Regions from separate parts of the Homo sapiens genome. Here region 2 is linked to region 1. The links are contacts of gene promoters, found by promoter capture Hi-C in human tissues and cell types (Jung and others, 2019). All regions are on one chromosome and are shown on one strand. The core of a region is centred on a gene start or on the middle of the fragment in contact, and the rest is flanking DNA. Distances in the headings are between cores, read along the strand shown.

What was found. Contacts are between HindIII fragments. The study calls those that stand out against the background at their distance.
Region 2: a fragment that was not itself captured here is called in contact with the fragment with the promoter of GLRA1 in region 1 in 1 of the 25 tissues and cell types used here (H1 embryonic stem cells).

Annotation. Positions count from the first base shown.
Region 1 is chr5:151,923,223-151,926,243 of GRCh38, reverse strand. GLRA1 (glycine receptor alpha 1) reads left to right here and starts at 1,393. Exons shown (of 9, transcript NM_000171.4): 1 at 1,393-1,750. The coding sequence starts at 1,695. RefSeq lists a silencer at 901-1,113. The HindIII fragment of the contact is 3,327 bases long and covers 1-2,588 here.
Region 2 is chr5:152,348,951-152,351,971 of GRCh38, reverse strand. The region is part of intron 1 of LOC105378237 (a long non-coding RNA gene); the gene reads right to left. Among named protein-coding and RNA genes, the nearest start is that of NMUR2, 55 kb to the left of the region's middle. RefSeq lists a cis regulatory region at 1,278, an enhancer at 1,194-1,363 and a silencer at 2,036-2,135. The HindIII fragment of the contact is 3,466 bases long and covers 1-3,021 here.

The DNA.
Region 1 (3,021 bases), core at 144-2,643:
AAATGTATAGCTGGTTTCTAAGATTCAAATAAGGTGGGAAAACAGAGGAAGAAATAACGAAATGTGAGTCATAACACATCCCTGTGTGTACAACTTGGCTCTGCCATCAATTTGGAGCAAGCCACAGCTCTGTGAGGCTCAGTTTCCCCAGCATATAAAAGGCGAATAAAACTGTCTCCTGTCCAGTTGGAAGAAGGTGCTTTTATTCCCTCTCAAAAGGGTGCCAGCCACAACACCTCCCACTCAACGCTGGAAACTGCTCAAAGAATTTCTCTCGTATTTCCCTGCTGCGGTGACCCTGGAGGGGGTCTTTATCCACCAGACTTCTTTTTGGATATTCCTCCTTTCTTTCTAGGGCCAAATATTATAACTTCAGAGCTCTTTTAAAAAAAATCAGGGATCTGGTTCAACTCTTCCCTTTTAAAAGGATAAATTGAGCCCAGAGCACGTCTTAACAAGGAACCATGTGTTTTACTCACATACAACTGCATTCTTTAAAAATCAAGGCAACCTTTTGAGAGACCTAGAGAGATTAATTCCATATCCTCTCTCACCCCACCGCTTACACGGAAAGAAGCTTGGGGGTAGGAAGGGGATTGCGCAGATCTCGTCCAGCACTCTAAGCGTTAAATTCAACCCGGAGTCTAACAGGCTATTGGCCGAATACCGGGAGAAGATCTGGTTTTCGTAGCCGCGGGCCAATGAACACCTCGAGTGGGAGGGTTTGAAGATACTAAGGAGTTTTCCCCCTTTTTTTTTCCCCCTCAACCCCCTCCCATCGGCTATCACCCCTCCCATCCCCCACGCCTCCAGTTTGTTAAATTAATGCAGTAAGAAAGTCTGAAGATCTGAAGGAGTCTTGACCAAGGGAAGATGAGCGAGCTCAGAAAACCGAGATGCATCTGAGACATTGGGCTTCAGAGCCCCGCGGGGTAGCCAGGGACCCCGGTAGCCCCTGAAACTTGCCCTGGGCTCTCTGACGCCTGCGGCCCCGAGCAATGGGACACCTTTTCTGCAGTGATCACAACTTATTCGGCGGGGACCGGGAAACAGGAATAGCAAGGCGACAGCAGACCCGCACAGAGGCAGGAGAACGAGATTCCGAGACTGGATTGCGATGCGCCAGCCTGGCACACTCTCCGAGATTTAACTGAAGGCAGCGCCGTCAACCGCTTTCCCCTCGCCCCTAACCCCCTCAGGCCGGCCCAGAGCCATAAAGCTCTGTTCTCTTTACCCAAGATGCTCGCCCAATCCAACGGTCCGAGGCCAGCGCTCTGATCTCCACAGAAGATTTTTTTCCTTGCAGGGAGCTGGCCGTTTAAACAGAAAAACAGGGGTTTAAAAAAAAAAAAAAAAAAAAGGAAATATACCCACCCCCAAACGTGCCTCCCCAGCGCCGCAGGGAGCCAACAGACACGCTGGAGTTTAACAAACAGCAATACTCTTCGCGCTCCTGAAAAGCAGGTCTGGACGCTCTCCGTGGTGCTGAAACGCCTCGCAGCCGCCGCTGTCCGTGGTATCTACGACCCCCTCGCTCCAATTTCCCCTGGGGCTCTCCCTCCGCGCCCCTGTTCCCCGCCTCCCTTTAACATCTGGATTATTTTTTGCAATAGCGCTTTCTGGTTTTGTAAGTGCCAATTTGAAACATTTTTGCCCCCATAACTCGTGGACTACAAAGCACAAGGACCTGAAAAATGTACAGCTTCAATACTCTTCGACTCTACCTTTGGGAGACCATTGTATTCTTCAGGTATGCAATTTTCTACTGACCACATCGCTCTGATGGAAATGGGGGGAAAGAGTACGGAGGCTACCTCTGTCCGTGGTCCCATCATTTTGGGGAAGAGGGGTGCTGTATTCCACTGCAATCGGGTCCTTCCATCCCCCGTCTCCCTTCTCCCCCCTCCCACCCCCCGCCACCCACCCCACCCCCGCCCGCAGGGTGTCTGGCTTGTGCGTGGAGGTCTGAGACAGTCGCTGTTCTGGCAGCTGTTTGCCTGTTTCTTACGGTTTGTTTGTCCTTCTGTCTGCTACACCCCCCACTATTGGTCCCCAGCCCCACTGCATGTTGGCTTTCACTCGGCTGAGGACTTTAAAGGGAAGCTTTAGGAGTTACTCAGTTTAATTAGGACTGCATTCTCCCTAACCGCAGTGCCGAAAACCTCAGCTTTCCCGTCTGGGAGCCAAGTGACAACTAGCGGTGACGGGGAAGGTTGCACTCAAACTCGCTGGACACAGATCATTTCATTTTCTGTCCTTTTTTGCTGTTGTTTTCTTTTTCTGCGAAGAGGGAGGGGGATTACTAAGGCTGAGTGCTTGGAAACAATAGTATTATAACCTCAGTGTGTAAAGCCCTGAACTTGGGTGCAGAGTGGATCTATTTAGGAACATACTGGGAAACATTTCCCTTTTGAAACTTTGACTGCCTCTTTCCCCAACCCACCTTTCCAAACTCTGTTAGCTGCAGATCCTGAACTCATGAGCAATCTTCATTTGCTTTGTTTTTAAATTTATGCTTATATTTGACTCAACAGCTGAGTTATCCCATCCACTGTCTCTCAGGTTAAAATTTTCTGCCTGAAGACTTGTCTTTCTTATGTTAGTAGAAGTGAAAAGTGAAAAATCACCTCTTTAAGAAGCATTGAAATAGATAGTCCTTTAGTAAGTGTGTGAATCATACCATCTTCAGAGATGGCTATGATAAATTCCACTTATATGAATTGAAAAACATTATTCTTCTTCCATGACATGCAGGGATCATTAATCTTCCTCATTTTAGATGCCTGCCTCTCATATTTTACTGTGGCATTGGATTAACAGTCATTTGAAAAACCCACCCCAAATTGTTTTTAAAAATAAGTGGTCACCAAATATTACCCTCTCCCAACATAAAACAGCAAATAATTTTTGTTTTATTACAGTTCATAGGAATTGCTGATTTGACTAATCTGTTGGCTGGTTTATTAAATGACACCTCCCCTCAAATAGTAAGTTTCTGTATTTCAGTCTCTTTTCATGTCT
Region 2 (3,021 bases), core at 342-2,841, 430 kb before region 1:
TGCATGTGCATGTAACACAGTCACTGCAATGGGGGAAATGACGACAGAAAACAGGAGCAAGAGATACATGGTGATATGTGAAGAAGGACAAACCCTAGGCAAGAGGAGGAGGGATATTGACTAATCAATATGACCAAGCAAAGTAATGGTGCAGCTCCTACATAGCTCTGAATTAAAGTAAATGGGAATCAATGGGCTAAAAACCAAGGATTCAATAAAGCCATTAAGTCATGGCAATTCCTTTTGAGGCAAATTCATTCCTTCATGGCTCTGTCCCCTGTTCCTACCAAAAGTCAATACTCTCCTGGCAAGGGATTTGGGGGATGTGGCTCCCAATAAAGACTTTGTCACTATTTCACTCCACCTGTTTATCCCTAGGAGAGGGATTTCTTTGCTTCTGGCTTTTTTCCATCAGTATGTTGGTTTTGCTTCAACCCGTAAGTTAACTGATTTGTGTTTCAAGGGAAACAAAACCTAATCTCATCTGCTGACACCTGACAAGGGGCCAGGTCTCTCAGTGGTTAGTGCTGCTGTTGAAACCTTCCCAGGGAGCTATATCGAGTCACAGTGTGTCCCTCACACATGAACACATTAGCAAGGCACTCTGTGACAGGTGCTATGTTAAGAATATCCTATGTATTGTCCTATTTAACTCTTACCACAACCCCACAAGATTCATTTTATGGATTGGGAAACTGAGTCTTGAATGGTTTAGTAACTCCTAATGTCTCCTGACTCCAAAGCCTGCCTAATGACCACTAGACTCAGCAGTGTCCACATGCCTCCCTAACTAAAACCCTCCAAGTCTCCAGGAAATGAGTGAGTTGCCAATGACCCTTCCAAAGCAGCCACCCACACCCCACAGCAGTTAGAGAGGATTTCTGAGCACATTGGGCACACACAAAATAGTCTCCCAGGTATAAAGTCTTATGTTGAGAGGGGCACTGGCCAACAGACGTCCACAGTTGCTGAGCTCCTTTTTTTTTTTTTTCTGAGATGGAGTCTCGCTCTGTCACCCAGGCTGGAGTGCAGTGGCATGATCTTGGCTCACTGCAACCTCCACCTCCCGGGTTCAAGCAATTCTCCTACCTCAGCCTCCCAAGTAGCTGGGATTACAGGTGCATGTAACAACCACATCTGACTAATTTTTGTGTTTTTAGTAGAGACAGGGTTTCGACATGTTCGCCAGGCTGGTCTCAAACTCCTGCCCACCTCAGCCTCCCAGATGATCTGCCCACCTCAACCTCCCAAAGTGCTGGGATTACAGGCGTGAGCCACCGCACCCAGCCAACAGTCCCTGAGCTCTTATCAGCCAGAACGCTCACCAGCATACAGCCGGGTTAGGAGACAGGAAGAGAATGATTCTGGTGAGTGTGTGCTAAAGACTAACAACTTCGATTTGCTTGAAGGAGAACACACATGCTATGTATTAAGGTAAATGAAAGCTATTGCTTTGGATTCAAAGAACCTGGGCCCTAATTTCCAGCTCTTCCACTTCAGCTATGTGACCTCGGGCAGTTTTGACCTTGCTGAGACTGAATTCTCATTTGCAAATTGGAGGTGTTTATCTTGCACAGTGGTGGCTATGAAGAGTGAATGAGATATTTCACATAAGAGCATTTATCATGTGCCTGGCACAGAGTGAATCTTAAATCGTAGCTGCCATTATTTCCCAAAACCAGATGACTGCTTTGCCAATAAACAACCTACATGCTGCTTTAGACATGCCTGACAAATGTTAGAGCCTGTGTTTACATAGACCGGTGCGCACACAAACCCGGGTGTTCTTTCCTGCTAACCAGTGTGTAGCCTAGTTTACATAGCAGCCTCTCTGAACCTCATAGAGATAACAATATTGGCTACTGCATAAGTGTGTGGTCTGGAATGTTAAAAAGGGAGAGGCCTTCGTGAAAGCCTGCCAATTTTATAGCTTTGATCACCCATTATAATGCTTTCTTTGCCCAGAGTTTTAGACTTCATCATTTTTTCTGTCCCAATACTGCAAAATATGTTGATCAGGAATTAATGCAGTGCAATAGAACTCTGCAGGGCATGCAGCTAGCACCAAAGAAGCCAAGACTTACAGCTCGTGGCACTTGGAGCCACTGGCCACTAGGGGCCGTTGGTAAGCCACAGAAAGCTGGAAGGATGCCTACCTGTCAGGTTTTTAAAAATCACATTTCTTATACAAAAAGCTTTCTGGACTCTCAAAAATCCAGCTCAGGGTCCTTTTGCAGGGAGGGATGGCTTTATTTTCTATAAAGGCTTTAGTCCCATTTCTTTCTGGGACTGAAGAAAAGGGAAGATGAGTCTTAACGAGCTCTGACCTAGTCAGTGAGGCACATGGTTGGTTGGCTGGGGTGGGGTTGGTGGGACTTGTGTGGCAGTATTTGCACAATCCTGAGAGATCCTCCACCTGCAAGAATTCCCCCAATACCCAGTGACTGAAATCTCTTTATGTCTTATTAACACTATGAACTTCTAAAGCCCGGTGATAAATACAGATATTCAGGATGGGACCATGTGTCAGACCACGATTAGATGCGCGATACAGGAAAAGGAGTCAGTGCACACCAAAGAAAAGCATGCAAAGATAGAGCTCCTAAAAGTGGGTTTGAATTCTAGCTTAGCCACTTATTAGCTGTGAAAACTTGGGCAAGTTACTTAATCCCTCTAAGCTTCCATTTCCTTTGAAACCCCTATATCATAGGTTTGTTGCATGGGTTTAAATGAGAATGTATACAAAATTGTACACACATAGAAAGTCTAAGCAATTTTTATTAGTTGTTATTCTTCTTTTGTTGAGTGAAAGTAAGACTGGAATTCAAGGCTAGAGAGCAGACATGCTGTCAGGCAGTTGGGGTTGAGGAAGCAAAATGAGGGTACAAGGAAAGTTTAAAACGGGGATCCCCAAACCCCAGGCCACGGACGGACTGGTACCAGTCCATGACCTGTTAGGAAGTGGGCTGCACAGCAGGAGGTGAGCGGCAGGTGAGCGAGCATTACCGCCTGAGCTCCACC